Regions from separate parts of the Homo sapiens genome. Here regions 1, 2 and 4 are each linked to region 3. The links are contacts of gene promoters, found by promoter capture Hi-C in human tissues and cell types (Jung and others, 2019). All regions are on one chromosome and are shown on one strand. The core of a region is centred on a gene start or on the middle of the fragment in contact, and the rest is flanking DNA. Distances in the headings are between cores, read along the strand shown.

Region 1 (3,022 bases), core at 238-2,737, 910 kb before region 3:
AGTCCGCTCTATAATCCTGTAGTCAATGTTACATTTTAATCAGAGGTTGAAAGGGATTCATGTGATGAGCACACTCATTTAGAATGATTAGACTGACACATATGTCAAAATGAGCAGATATATTATTTTCATCTATTTATGCTATCAGCTATTACTGCTATTAAATGTGAAACAAGCTTTCAAGTATTATGTTCTTTAATGTGCTGGCACATTTCCTAAAATAAAAAAATACATAGTTAGAGGTTAACATTTTAAGCTCTCTTAATGGTGGTCAATAAATGGTATGAATCTTTTTAACAGCCTCCAAAGCAGAAACTGTCCAATATTTGCCCCTAAAACTGTATAACTCTGGTTTCATTTCTGTGTATACACACACGTGATGGGGTTTAACCCGGTACAATTACTATGAATATTAATAGCATGTATAAATTCTGTGGTTTATTAATTGAGACAGAGAGGCAGATGCGTTGCTTAGCGTTAGATCTTTCTGTCTGTCCAGTGAACCACGTAACCATCAGAACTGCATCCAGACAATAAATCTGTATTTTTTAAAGATGACTTTTAATTGAGCCCAAAAGAAAGCTAGTTTGAATCTTGCGCCAAAGCCAAAAGGACATGTGCCTTGACTTCATTTAAATGCATCTGCTTTAAGAGGCTTATCTAAACGAATTATTCAAATTAGCTATAAGAAGTTAAATTCAAGGAAACTACTTCAAAAAGAAGCCTCTGGGGGATTTTTAAAGTTTGTTTTCTTTATTTATTTACAAGAGAAAGTTCAGAATCTGGGCGTGCTTGGATAAGACATTCTTCCTGACACGAAGACGTCTTAAACTCTCCAATTCTACAGCCCGAAGTACACTAACCTTCAAACTACACTTGAGCGGGCAGTCTTACCTTTGTTTATTTTTCATTTTTATTTTTACACATCTTAAGGTTGTTTCTTCCCTTGAGTGTTTCAAACTGATGCAAGCACAGCCTTATAATCTTTCAGTTCCTCCTAAATCCATCTCTTGGCTAATATTCCCTGTGTGAGCATGGATGTGGGTGGATGTGCATGTGTGAGCGTGCATACACACACACACTCACACTCACGCTCAAACATACAGGAGCAGCCACTGAGACTGCAAGTCACTTTTCATCTCTTACTTAATTACAAAGCAATGCAATATGCAGTCACTAAGGACAGCTAGTGGACATCTACCTATAATGCACTACCTCATCTTCTAGAGTTTGATATTTTCTTCACAATCTATAGAGAGAAATGTTTGCCAAGGGCACTCTTTTCAGAATTATAACAGTTGGTATTACTGTAATGTGAAAGCAAAGCAATATAACTGACTCAACAGAAAGGGAGATAAACCAGTGACAGCTCTCGTGATATACTAACATTTTATCTTAACAGTAGGTTGAAATTAAGTTTATCACCTACTCATTTACACAAAAATGCCTAACTTACTTCTCGTACCCCCTACTCACTCCCCCCCCTTTAGTAATCTAAATATATATTTCCATGTGCATAAAGATATCCATAAATACTAATTAAACTGCTTGTAAGAACGAAAGTACTTTTCTATATTTTCTGGACACAACAAACGAGACAAATCCACACTCTGAGCAGTATTTAAGGGGAAAATTTTAAAGTCACTACTGTTTCTTCTTTAGTTTTTTTTCCCCCCTTAAATATTTATAATGTGTGAAAATCTCATGTTACTTAATGGACTGATTTGTCAGTTAAGTGCTGACTTAACGCTAACCATGCAAATAACATTATTCTAGCTCAGAATTGCATAGGGCTAGCTTTTAAATTGTTCTCTGAAGGAGAATTAGTAAATGTGCAATTTTGCCTCTAACTCTGCGCGGTAAGAAATGACAAGGAGCTGAAAATATCTGTCAAACTGCAAATACATAAGAGGCCCTCAATAGTATAAATCATTTTGAATATTGTATTTTAAAACATCTTTCCTTGGGAAAATGGGTCCTAGTAAAAGATGCATTTTAACAGTTCACTAAGCATTTGTGCCAAGTGCCTATTCTTAGCACCTGAATAAGAAGTGACTGTCACACAGCTGTTTTACTGACAGTCACTGAGCTTTGCCTCAAAGGTAACATTGTAGTCAGAGAACAATTCTCGACTTACTGAATTAGGAGATCACCCTCAACACAAAAGACACAAGACAGACACAAACAAGCAGTCGTGCACACAAAATACCCAGGGCATTACCTGAATCAGTGTGTAAAGATATAGTCTGTCCGCCCCCACCCCCGCACCCCCACGACGAGTTTAAAAAGGAAAGAAAAAAGGTACCTACTCTTCCTCGTAGTGCAGGGAAAAAGATTCAGGAAGGCAAAGTTCTACCGAATCCATGTGCGACCGGCAACCATTATTTGTGCACCCCAGCTATAAATCAAAGTTTCCTTGACAGAGCACAGTGCAATTAACACAAATGTTCTCCTAGTGACAAGCCTATAGGCACAGCCAGTTGGGACCAAAGCTCTCACACTCTCCTAATCAAGGACTTAAAGCCCCGATTGGAGCTTATTAATATGAAGTAGGGCTTTACATATGCAGTCCCACCGGCCCAGCCGCGCAGCCGATTGGGGGGCCTCTGCCCAATCAGGAGGGAGGCGACGGGAGGCTGCACGGAGCGAGAGGAGCCAGGCAGGTAGGCAGGGTGCAGAGAGCCGAAGGGGGCTGGAAACTGAGAGTGGGCAGAGAAAAAGGGAGCGGAGAAGGGAGCGATTGAAACGCTCCCAATACACACTCTCGGGTTTGATTTTTTTTCCTCCCTTCTCTCTCTTTCTTTTTTTTTTCTTCTGGGAAGCTACAAAAGAAACATAACTAACTTAACTCTCTAAGCACTGGAGGGATTTGCCTTTGATTTCTAACCTAAGATCTCTTTTGCCTTGAAAAGGAGAACTCACGCAGACTCTCAGTTAATTTGGGAAAGGATTCTGCGGAAGGTAGAGAATTAAGTTTGTCCTGCCGTTGTCTGTGTTTTTATTACACCGGGGGCCGCGGCTT
Region 2 (3,015 bases), core at 153-2,652, 890 kb before region 3:
AGGTGAAGTTAACTGCTGAGGAAGGGGCTTAGGGTAAAGTGAAGACCATCTGTGGACTCCAGCTTTTGTAGTGACACAATGCTGAGAAACCAAATTTCCAGGGATCCATCAGTTTATGAAACTTTACTAAAATAAGTCCTATACTGCCAAGCAACTAAGGAGAAAAAAGTGAACCATAAAATGCTTATCAATGAAGAGCTGAGTATAATGTAAAAATCTATTCTAAATACTATGCTTCAGAGTAAAAACAGATGTGAAATGGTTAAACAAAATCTGTGGTATCATAAGGCAATAAAATTTAGTTGCTTTTCATTTTCTTCCTTATATTCTTATGTATTGTTTAGATAATTTTACAATGAATGCAGATTATTTATTTAACAGAAAATAACAGTCAAACAGAATGTAGTAAGGGGAAAAAGTGGATTAAGTAGGGGAAAAGTATGAAATGGTGAGACAGTAAAATAAATGCCAGAGCTGAGAAAGATGAAGCAGCGTGCACTTATAAACAAAAAAAATTCTAGGACTCTCAAAACACTGGCAGATTCCTGAATACATGCTAATGTTTCACTTCTCTCTGCCTAGCAAAATCTTACTTATCCTTTTTAAAAATTTTATTTGTTATTTATTTACTTATGAGACAGGGTCTCACTCTGTCACCCAGGCCTGTCACCCAAACTGGAGTGCAGTGGTGCAATCATAGCTTTCTGCAGCTTCAAACTTCTGGCCTGAAGTGATCTACCACCTTAGCCTCTCAAAGCACTGGGATTACAGGTATGTCCCACTGCAACCAGCCCCTACTTATCCTTAATACTTAGTTTACCTTGGAGCGGAGGTCAGGGGAGGCTCCCAGTAGAATAGAGACCTCAGCATCCCTCTATCATCTCAACTAACCAAATGCTATTAATGTTTTCTTCGTATTTATCTGATTCTCCCATGACTGTAAGCCTCTTGAGAGTAAAACTGCATCCTGTTTATCTTTATAAATAATCCCGACACTGAGAGACAAGTGCATAAAAGGTATCTCCAAAGATTCATTAAAGTGAAAAAAAAAAAAAAGTTCCCCAGCTGTGGGAAACAGGCAGAATAAGATGTGATATAAACATAGTTCTACATAAGCTATTTTTTAAATAAAAACAAAACAAAGACAACTCCTACACATAAACTATCTTCTGTGATCTTTTGGACTTTCTATTTGAGGTTAACAGTGAAGAGCTGCCAATGCTCATTGCTCAGTGGGTTTAACTGATAGGTGCTCTAAAAATGCAAATCATTTGATCGTCTGATGACTGGTATGTAGAGTTTATACCAGTAGTTCTCAAAGGAAAATATCAGTATTATCCAGGAACTGTTAGTGTAAATTCTCGGCCCTGCCACCCCAGAGAAACCCTGGGGATAGGATTCAGCAATCTGTGCTTTATCAAGTCCTCCAGGTGATTCTGATGCATGTTCGAGTTTGAGACCCACTGGTCTAAGCTAAAAGATTTAGAAGAAATGAAAACCCAGCTCACTGCTAACTCCTTCTCAAAATCTATTTTGCTAATATGGCTCTCCTATATGTGCCATGGAACCCAAACTCTGATGCGCAAATGTTTCAAAACAGACCAAGACACCTCTCAACTGTTAAAATTCCCACCTCCGACCCCTCAGGAGAATGAAATTTGAGATGCAAAGACGTCTCTTTCCTACAGTTTATCCTGCCAGACTCCTTCATTCCTCACTCTGTTCCCTGCAGATTGTCTTGTAAATGTGGCCAGAGACACATCTTCAGTCCTGAGTCTGACTGCTGACCTCGGCTATGTTAGCCCCTTTGCTGCTGAAGAACAGCCCCTTGGATCACTGACTTGCTATTATTCTATGCTTAATAGCCCCGACCTGTGCAATATTTTTTATCTGGCTACAGTCCTATCTCTAAATTCTCTATTTTGAATGAATACCAATTTTGTGACATGAAGTCTTCTATATAATGAAATGCAAACAATGAAAAGGCTAAATCAGTTTACAAAAAATCTATTTGTCAAACAGTGTGGAGATGTTCCCAATTTAGTCTGGGCAGTTCATGCAGCTCTTGATAAGGGAGTTAAAAACCTAGCTGTTCACAGAATGAAAATAAAGGCATCTGCACCACAGACACATTTTCCTTTCAAAAGTCTTTGTTGTAACTTGTAGCTAATTAAATGCCCTTACACAAGAGGTGCACACACACACAGCAAAATCAGAGAATAATTTTACAAGAGAGCCCCAGAGAAGAGGAGAGCACAACACAAGCTTCCCACTACCATCTCTTATATTGCATTTACATTTCTATACAGCTTCATCAGCCTGACAAAAAAAGCACAAGGGGAGGCCTTTTTTGTTCAATTTTGGACGAGAGAGATTTCTAAGCCCTGCAAAGGAACGTGCTTAACATTAAAAAAAAAAAGAAGAAAGAAAGAAAAAAAGAAAGAAATTGTAACCCTGCCTTAGATGCTTGTGGAGAAATAATGCTTTCTACACACCTTTCTATATCACCGACAGAGGAACTAAAAAATTATCAAGAACTTAAAGTGTTCCATTTTTTTATTTGTAGTGTTTTCCTCACTCCTAGAGATTATTTGCAGGCAGAGGTGCCCCTGTATTAAGCTTGACATTTATTGGAGTGGCTTTGAATTTACCATGTCACATTTATCAAAATGGGATTATATATACATATTGACATTCTTTCATTTTTCCACCTTCTGAATTTAACTATTTCATTGGGCAGAATTTAAAGTGTTAATTCTCAGATAAATTTTTTAAAGTCATATACGAAATTGGTTCTCAAATATAACTGGCATTGAGTTATCACAGTCCCCCCTCTCTCTTCTTTCACGCCCCCGTCCCCATATGGGAAGACTGTCCAACATAATGGGATAGCATTGGATATAAAAACAGAACATTGTCTAAACAGAGGATTGAAAGCTCTTTGGGGTCAGGGTAATTTATATTATATTTATATTTATAATTTATATAATTTATATTATATAATTTATATTTATA
Region 3 (3,055 bases), core at 226-2,725:
CTGTGGGGTGATGGACAAATCCATTATCTTGTTTTGTGTGGTGTTTACATAAGTATATGCAATTGCCAAAACTAATAAAATTAAGCCTGTAAAAATTGTGCATTTCATTCTATGCTAGTTATACCATTAAAAACTGGTTCATTTAAAAAATGCTCCCTACTTTTCTCACTGGAAAATGTAATAATTTACAAATAGTATAATCAAATCTATATTCACTATAAAATTAACTACAGGATGATCAGGTCCAACTAGAAATATTTTGGATAAGGTATTCTTTTAACTTTTCAGTGATAGGTGATGGAAAAGCAATTATCTGAGATCACAGACTACTAGAATTCCTCATGTTCTAATTTTTGCAGAATCTAGGAATGAACACGCACCATTTAGCCACATTTCTTTCACCTGTTGGTCAGAACTTTATGTTTGAGGATTTTCAATGGGAAATTGCTTGTTTGTGTCACTGGTTGTCTTATGTTATGTTTGGAGGAAAAGGGCTTGGGAGAAAAACAGGACAGATAATACAGAGTGTTCAACTAGAAATCCCCAAATCAGGATTCTAGCTCTAGGATTAAAATGTACAGGGCAACTTTGGACACGGTACTTGAATTTTCTGTGCTTGTGATATTCTGCTATCACAAGGCTGTCATAGGATAAAGTGTATTAATTTGTGGAAATACTTTGAAAAGTCAAAGCAATATATTATTCTAACATGATACCATAGACATAGTCAAGCCCCAAACTTAATCCTGACAGTTATAGGTTCTTGGAAAGCCCCCATACATATCTCACTTTAACTTGAATAGAATGTTCAAGAGGGTGGAAACAGGTAGGTTACCCTCTCTCTTTAAAAAAGGGGGTGAGAGGGTGATGTGTTTTCCACGATTGAACTTCCAGAACTCTAGATTTCTGGAATTTATCTTCCAAAAGACTTGGTATAATCTGGTAAATATTGAAAGAGGAGTGGGGAATAAGGCCCGGATTAAGATAAATTCTTCCTGTCCCTAGTGTTGTCAACAATCAATGAGGAGATGAATTGCTCCTGGAGTACAGGAAGCTTGACTTCTAAAATATTGTTAAACAAGCAATCAGAAAACATTTACTGTATTCTTTCACAAATCTTTGGCACACACCCAAGAGCTCCCTCAAACTGCGTGCATCCCAGGAATGAGTGAGAGCAAGGCCTAGATGTCTTCAGATCATCCATCACAGCTCCCTCCCGCCTCCATTCCAGGTCCAGCGGAGCGGCCTCGGGCAATCACACCCTTCCCTGACCTCCCCCTCCCCAGGGCCGCCAGCCTCACCAGCTGTTCCCGGCTGCTGGAGCTCCGATCGGTTGGCGCCCGGCGGCCCCGAACATTAACGACACCCGGGAGCCTGGCCTCGAAGCTCAGGCCCGTGAACAGACTCCAACTACAACAGCACCGGCGACTTCCAAAGAGCAGTTCAGCATTTTGAGATGAGCTTCCGGAAGCCGACAGGCGGCGGAAACCGGATGCCCGGAGCAACCATTAGTTCTCCGCGTTTACTGCTTTCCCCTTCCTATAATCCCCTCTTCCTACTCGCAGTAGAGACAGAGACAAATAAATTAAACTTTTGTGCTACACAGAAATTTCTTAATTCTCTTTTTAGTGCTCTTAAAGTCAAAGCAGCATGAGAGAAAAGAGGAGTGAACAAAAAGTCGAACCCCGGGAGTGAGCTATGGTTTAGCCCAGTTACCATGGAGACCGGTAGTAACACCAGTTGTAAACCCAAGGCCAAGAGACCATGGCCACGTTAGCCCGGCTGCAAGCTAGGTCGTCGACTGTAGGAAATCAGTACTACTTTAGGAACAGGTAAGTCAGGAAGAGAAGGATCGCGTAAAGGGCGGGCGTGACTTTATACCAGTTGTTCCTCAGCGGGAGTTTCCAATTAACGATTTAACGATTACCCTAATTCATTAAGTAGTACCCAATTCTTCCCTTAATGGGCTGCAAACATAATTGGGAGTTTCTGTTACCATACAACGAAATTCTAAATAGAGAGGGGCCGTAGATATTCAGTGTGAGATGATTTAAGGAAACTCCCAGCATAGATAAAATTGTAAAGTGCTTTTTTTCTTCGACATCACCACTCTGCAATTTGATGAAACCTATGTTCAATACCCTGACTGGGGGTCACCCTGACTCACTAGCCCAATGAACTCAGATTGTGTCCCATCTACCTAGGGATTTGAGCCTCCGTTATTTTACAAACATCACTAAACTCAATTGTTCTATGACTCATTCGCCTTTTTAAAATGAACGTATCTGCCGGGTGTGGTGGCTCACGCCTGTAATCCCAGCACTTTGGGAGGCCGAGGGGGGCGAATCACCTGAGGCCAGGAGTTCTAGACCAACCAGGACAACATGGTGAAACCCCGTCTCTATTAAAAATACAAAAACTAGCCGGGCATGGTGGCACATGCCTGTCATCCCAGCTAGTCCGGAGGCTGAGGCAGGAGAATCGCTTGAACCTGGGAGGCAGAGGTTGCAGTGACCCGACATTGTACCACTGCACTCCAGCCTGGGTGACAAATTAAGACCCTGTCTCAATAAATAAATAAATAAATATAAATAAAATAAAATAAAATGAAAGTGTCTAAACCATTCTGACACGGTAACTAGTACCAATATATTAATTAATAGATAACGGGTAAGAAAACCACTAGCAGTCTTCTTCATCTCCCTACAGCCAAACTTCTTGCCCAGGAAGAGTTTCATTTTAAAGAAGCATTGCCCCAGGAGTTTTTGTAACTTAAAAGAAACTGCAAAAAAGTGAATTAGACTATTATGGAATACAGTGACATGACAGACCAATGGAAAATATGTCAATGAGATAGGGTCTTGCTGAGCTGCTTTTATTCTAACGTTTATCTCACCTACTACATCATTATTTCACAACGTACCTCTCTTACAGCACTGATCACAATTCAATTTTACATTCTTTTATGAGATAATATCTATCTCCCCTCTTAAACTAGTAGCAGAGACAGTGTCTCTTATTTTGCTCACCATTATTTTTGTCTCCAACGTCTATG
Region 4 (3,422 bases), core at 145-2,644, 620 kb before region 3:
AGTAATATATTATCTCAGCTCTACAACTCAGAAGTTCAAAATCAAGGTGTTGATAGGGGTGGTTCCTTCTGAGGGTTGTGAGAAAATGTTCCAGGCTCTTCTTCTTGGCTTACAGATGGTTGTCTTCTCCATGAGTTTCTTCATATCATGTCTTCCTTCTATGCATGTTGTCTCTGTGTCCAAATTTCTCCTTTTTTATAAGAGGATAATCCTGGATTGGAGCTCACCCTAATTGCATCATTTGAACTTGATTACCTCTGGAAAGGCTCTATCCCCAAACGGGATCACATTCCTCTGTACTGGAGGTTAGGACTCCAAAATATCTTTCTTGGAGTATACAATTCAACCCATAACAAAACTATAAGCAGCTCTCTTTATTAGATGCTAAGAAAAAGTATGTGCAGCTAAGGTGACCATTAGTTCACTGAGCAAAGCAGATATTACCTTAGGATGTCAAAGGGGTGTTTGAAGACTGCATTACACTAATGCAAAAAACAGATTGAGAACTAACATGATGTTAAGTAACAAGTATAAATTTGGCAAAGAATAATGTAAAATTGCATAACTTTTGTTGTTTTGCTTCCATGTCCATGGACATTTGAACAAGTAAACTCAATACATTACAGCTTTTTGAAGGACAGACAGTCCATAATCTCTGACAATCTATAGTTCCTTTAAATGCCTCTCTGCCAGATAATTTAGGGCTCACAGAAAAGAGAGGTTAAGACCTATCACTTACCCCTGAAGTGTGACATTAGGCTTTAAATGTATTTCATCTCTGGATAAAAGATTGTTTAGTGCTTACTTTTTGAAGTATACATTAGCAACACAGGACCTAAGGATGGCATGTGAGATCATTTTAATTGCTAGAAGGGCCAGTCACTATTAGCTAAATGTCATCCCCCCTGAAAGAGTGGCCAAGCACAGTGCTCCCTGACTGGTAATTAGAATCTTGTTACCTCCTACCATTAAAATGAGGGGCTGAAACATTAGCACACCAGAGTGAATGAGGAGGGTAAATATGATTTGATGATCATGAAAATGAAAGCCAACTATTAAAGCAAGAGGAACAAGATATGAACGGATTGCATTTAGTGCCCACCTAGGTAAATAATGCTTTATCAGAGCAATGCTCCAAAAGGAGTGAAGGGTGCCTATCCACCCTTCTTTGACTTCCTGCATCTGCTTGGAGGATTCCTTTGACCTTTGTTTTTTACCCCCTTTCCCTCCTTCCAAAATTTACTTTTGTGACTGCTGTGGGTGTTTGGGTTCTTATTTTAATTTATTTTAAAGTTTGATTTAAATTTGGAACCTGCATAAGACTTTTGACATTTATTTCTGGGGGTGTTTTCTGAAGCTGGATGAAGTGGGTGTTGACTGACAGACAGGTTGCTATGGGAACAGCTGTCATTGCAGAGACTAAGGCTTTATTTCCTACTCTTCTTTTGTCAGGCAAAGGTTTGTGGGATATTTTAAAAATAGTATAAGTGCCCCAGAATTAATAGGAAATTGTTCAGTGACTCTTTTCTAACATACCTATCAAAACCTGCAATAGTTTTCATTCTGTACTGCTCTGTTCTGCATATGGATTCATAACTTTTTTCTTTAAAACAAGTGCTTTCCAATATGGCTTTCTCTCATTGGTTGTTTGCTCTCCACATTTCCCCTATGATACTGGTCCTCTATAAAATCATACAGGTAAGGAAATCAAAGTAATAAAAGGCATCCAACAGTCATCCCAAAGAAACATTCAACTAGTGTGACCATGGACTTGGGCGACCTATAAGCTCCATCCTGGTGCTTTATTTACTGGGCAACTTCTTCATCTTAGGATGTTAAAGAGGAAATTCAGGAGATGAGAAAATACATGCAAGTTAAAAGAGGAGCATATAAGTTATCTTAGACTTAAGTTGGGTTCAATTATTTTTATCTCTATTCATTTATTTATTCTCTACCTTTAGTAGCCTCTTGGAGATTTGAGTAGATGATTAAATAAGATGCAGGAGTTCTACATCAAATCCTAATCAGCCCCAAATCTTCTATTTCTCAGGTTGCTCATTCCACAGCGATTCATTACAGCTCCCAAACCAATTGAATTCTGAATACATTCCAAGCATCACTTAGAAAAATGACCAAAAAAAGCAGAAACCCCATTGAACAATCTGCTCTGAAAATAAAGAAGATCAACCCTTCTCTAAACTCAGCTTTCTATGAACCCGAATCCAATCATCTCTTTTCTTGACAACAGGTACCTCCCTATACTACTCCACATACCCACACAGTGCAGAACCCCATATAGGTTAGCTTCTGGATTTCTGAAAATAGTGCAGGGGCTGATTGTTTGCATTATTTTGTGTTTTTCTGGCTGCATTCAATTTCTACCATCTCTTCACTGGTCTTTCTTTGCTTCCTTTTACATGAATGTCCAATTTTGCATTTGTTAAGGGCCATCATCCAGACACTGCTGGAAAAGCAAAATTTCACCTTAATAATGTTTCAGATGTACACTACCTAAACAAGAATTAAACTCATAGTTTAGACAAAGTAAAATATATAAAACATAAATTTATTTCCTTGAAACTTGGCTCAAACTAGTATCTTTTCTTTCATCATTCCATTGGAGGAGGTTTATAGGGTTGTTTTTCTCTACACAGGAGCTCTAAGTGTTTATGTCATCCTGATACATGGAAATTTCCTTAATTAACTAAAATTGTGTACTCAATCATATTTTCTCACCTCCTGAAAATACCTATACAAGATGCAAGAGAGTTGTGAGGATCTTAATTACGTATGGCAAGCATGGTTTGATATTTCAGGAACCTCAGGTTTTGTTTGTGTGGGGGGTGAGAGGGGGCAGCTAGATTTTTTTTTTTTTTTGAGACAGAGTTTCACTCTTACTGCCCAGACTGGAGTGCAATGGCATGATCTTGGCTCACTGCAACCTCCACCTCCCAGGTTCAAATGATTCTCCTGTCTCAGCCTCCTGAGTATCTGGGATTACAGGCGCATGCCACCACGCCCGGCTATTTTTTTGTATTTTTAGTAGAGATGGAGTTTCACCATGTTGACCAGGCTGGCTTCGAACTGCTGACCTCAGGTGATCGAGGGCGGCTAGATTTAAAGTGAGAAAGAAATATGCCGAGAAAGTTTGTGTCGATCTTACCTTCCCCTTCTTATGGCTGATTTCAGGAGTAGACTGGAAGGGAGATCTTAGAACAGAGAAAAATGATGAACAAAATAAAAGAGGTTAGGAAAAGAAGCGAGTGATAGTGTGAGAATAAAATTCAATTGAAGAAAATGTTAAAAAGTGCTGAGAATATATTATCATAATGCAGACTGAGATAGTCTGCAGCTTACTCATCGCAAGTGTAACATTATTTGTACATTTTTAATAAAGCCAAGTGCCATTTCCTTTTTTTTTA

The links. Contacts are between HindIII fragments. The study calls those that stand out against the background at their distance.
Region 1: a fragment that was not itself captured here is called in contact with the fragment with the promoter of GPATCH2 in region 3 in 1 of the 25 tissues and cell types used here (IMR-90 fibroblasts).
Region 2: a contact is called between a fragment that was not itself captured here and the fragment with the promoter of GPATCH2 in region 3, in 1 of the 25 tissues and cell types used here (mesenchymal stem cells).
Region 4: a contact is called between a fragment that was not itself captured here and the fragment with the promoter of GPATCH2 in region 3, in 1 of the 25 tissues and cell types used here (bladder).

What each region holds. Positions count from the first base shown.
Region 1 is chr1:216,720,935-216,723,956 of GRCh38, forward strand. ESRRG (estrogen related receptor gamma) reads right to left here and starts at 2,495. Exons shown (of 7, transcript NM_001438.4): 1 at 2,310-2,495. The coding sequence starts at 2,365. The HindIII fragment of the contact is 4,903 bases long and covers 1-3,022 here.
Region 2 is chr1:216,738,223-216,741,237 of GRCh38, forward strand. It overlaps a transcript of ESRRG not described here. Among named protein-coding and RNA genes, the nearest start is that of ESRRG, 16 kb to the left of the region's middle. RefSeq lists an enhancer at 2,004-2,571. The HindIII fragment of the contact is 3,332 bases long and covers 1-3,015 here.
Region 3 is chr1:217,629,615-217,632,669 of GRCh38, forward strand. It overlaps GPATCH2 (G-patch domain containing 2), which reads right to left and starts at 1,476. Exons shown (of 10, transcript NM_018040.5): 1 at 1,302-1,476. The coding sequence starts at 1,357. It overlaps SPATA17 (spermatogenesis associated 17), which reads left to right and starts at 1,730. Exons shown (of 11, transcript NM_138796.4): 1 at 1,730-1,832. The coding sequence starts at 1,765. RefSeq lists enhancers at 1,415-1,484, 1,515-1,754. The HindIII fragment of the contact is 13,029 bases long and covers 1-3,055 here.
Region 4 is chr1:217,012,870-217,016,291 of GRCh38, forward strand. It overlaps a transcript of ESRRG not described here. Among named protein-coding and RNA genes, the nearest start is that of ESRRG, 290 kb to the left of the region's middle. The HindIII fragment of the contact is 7,901 bases long and covers 1-3,422 here.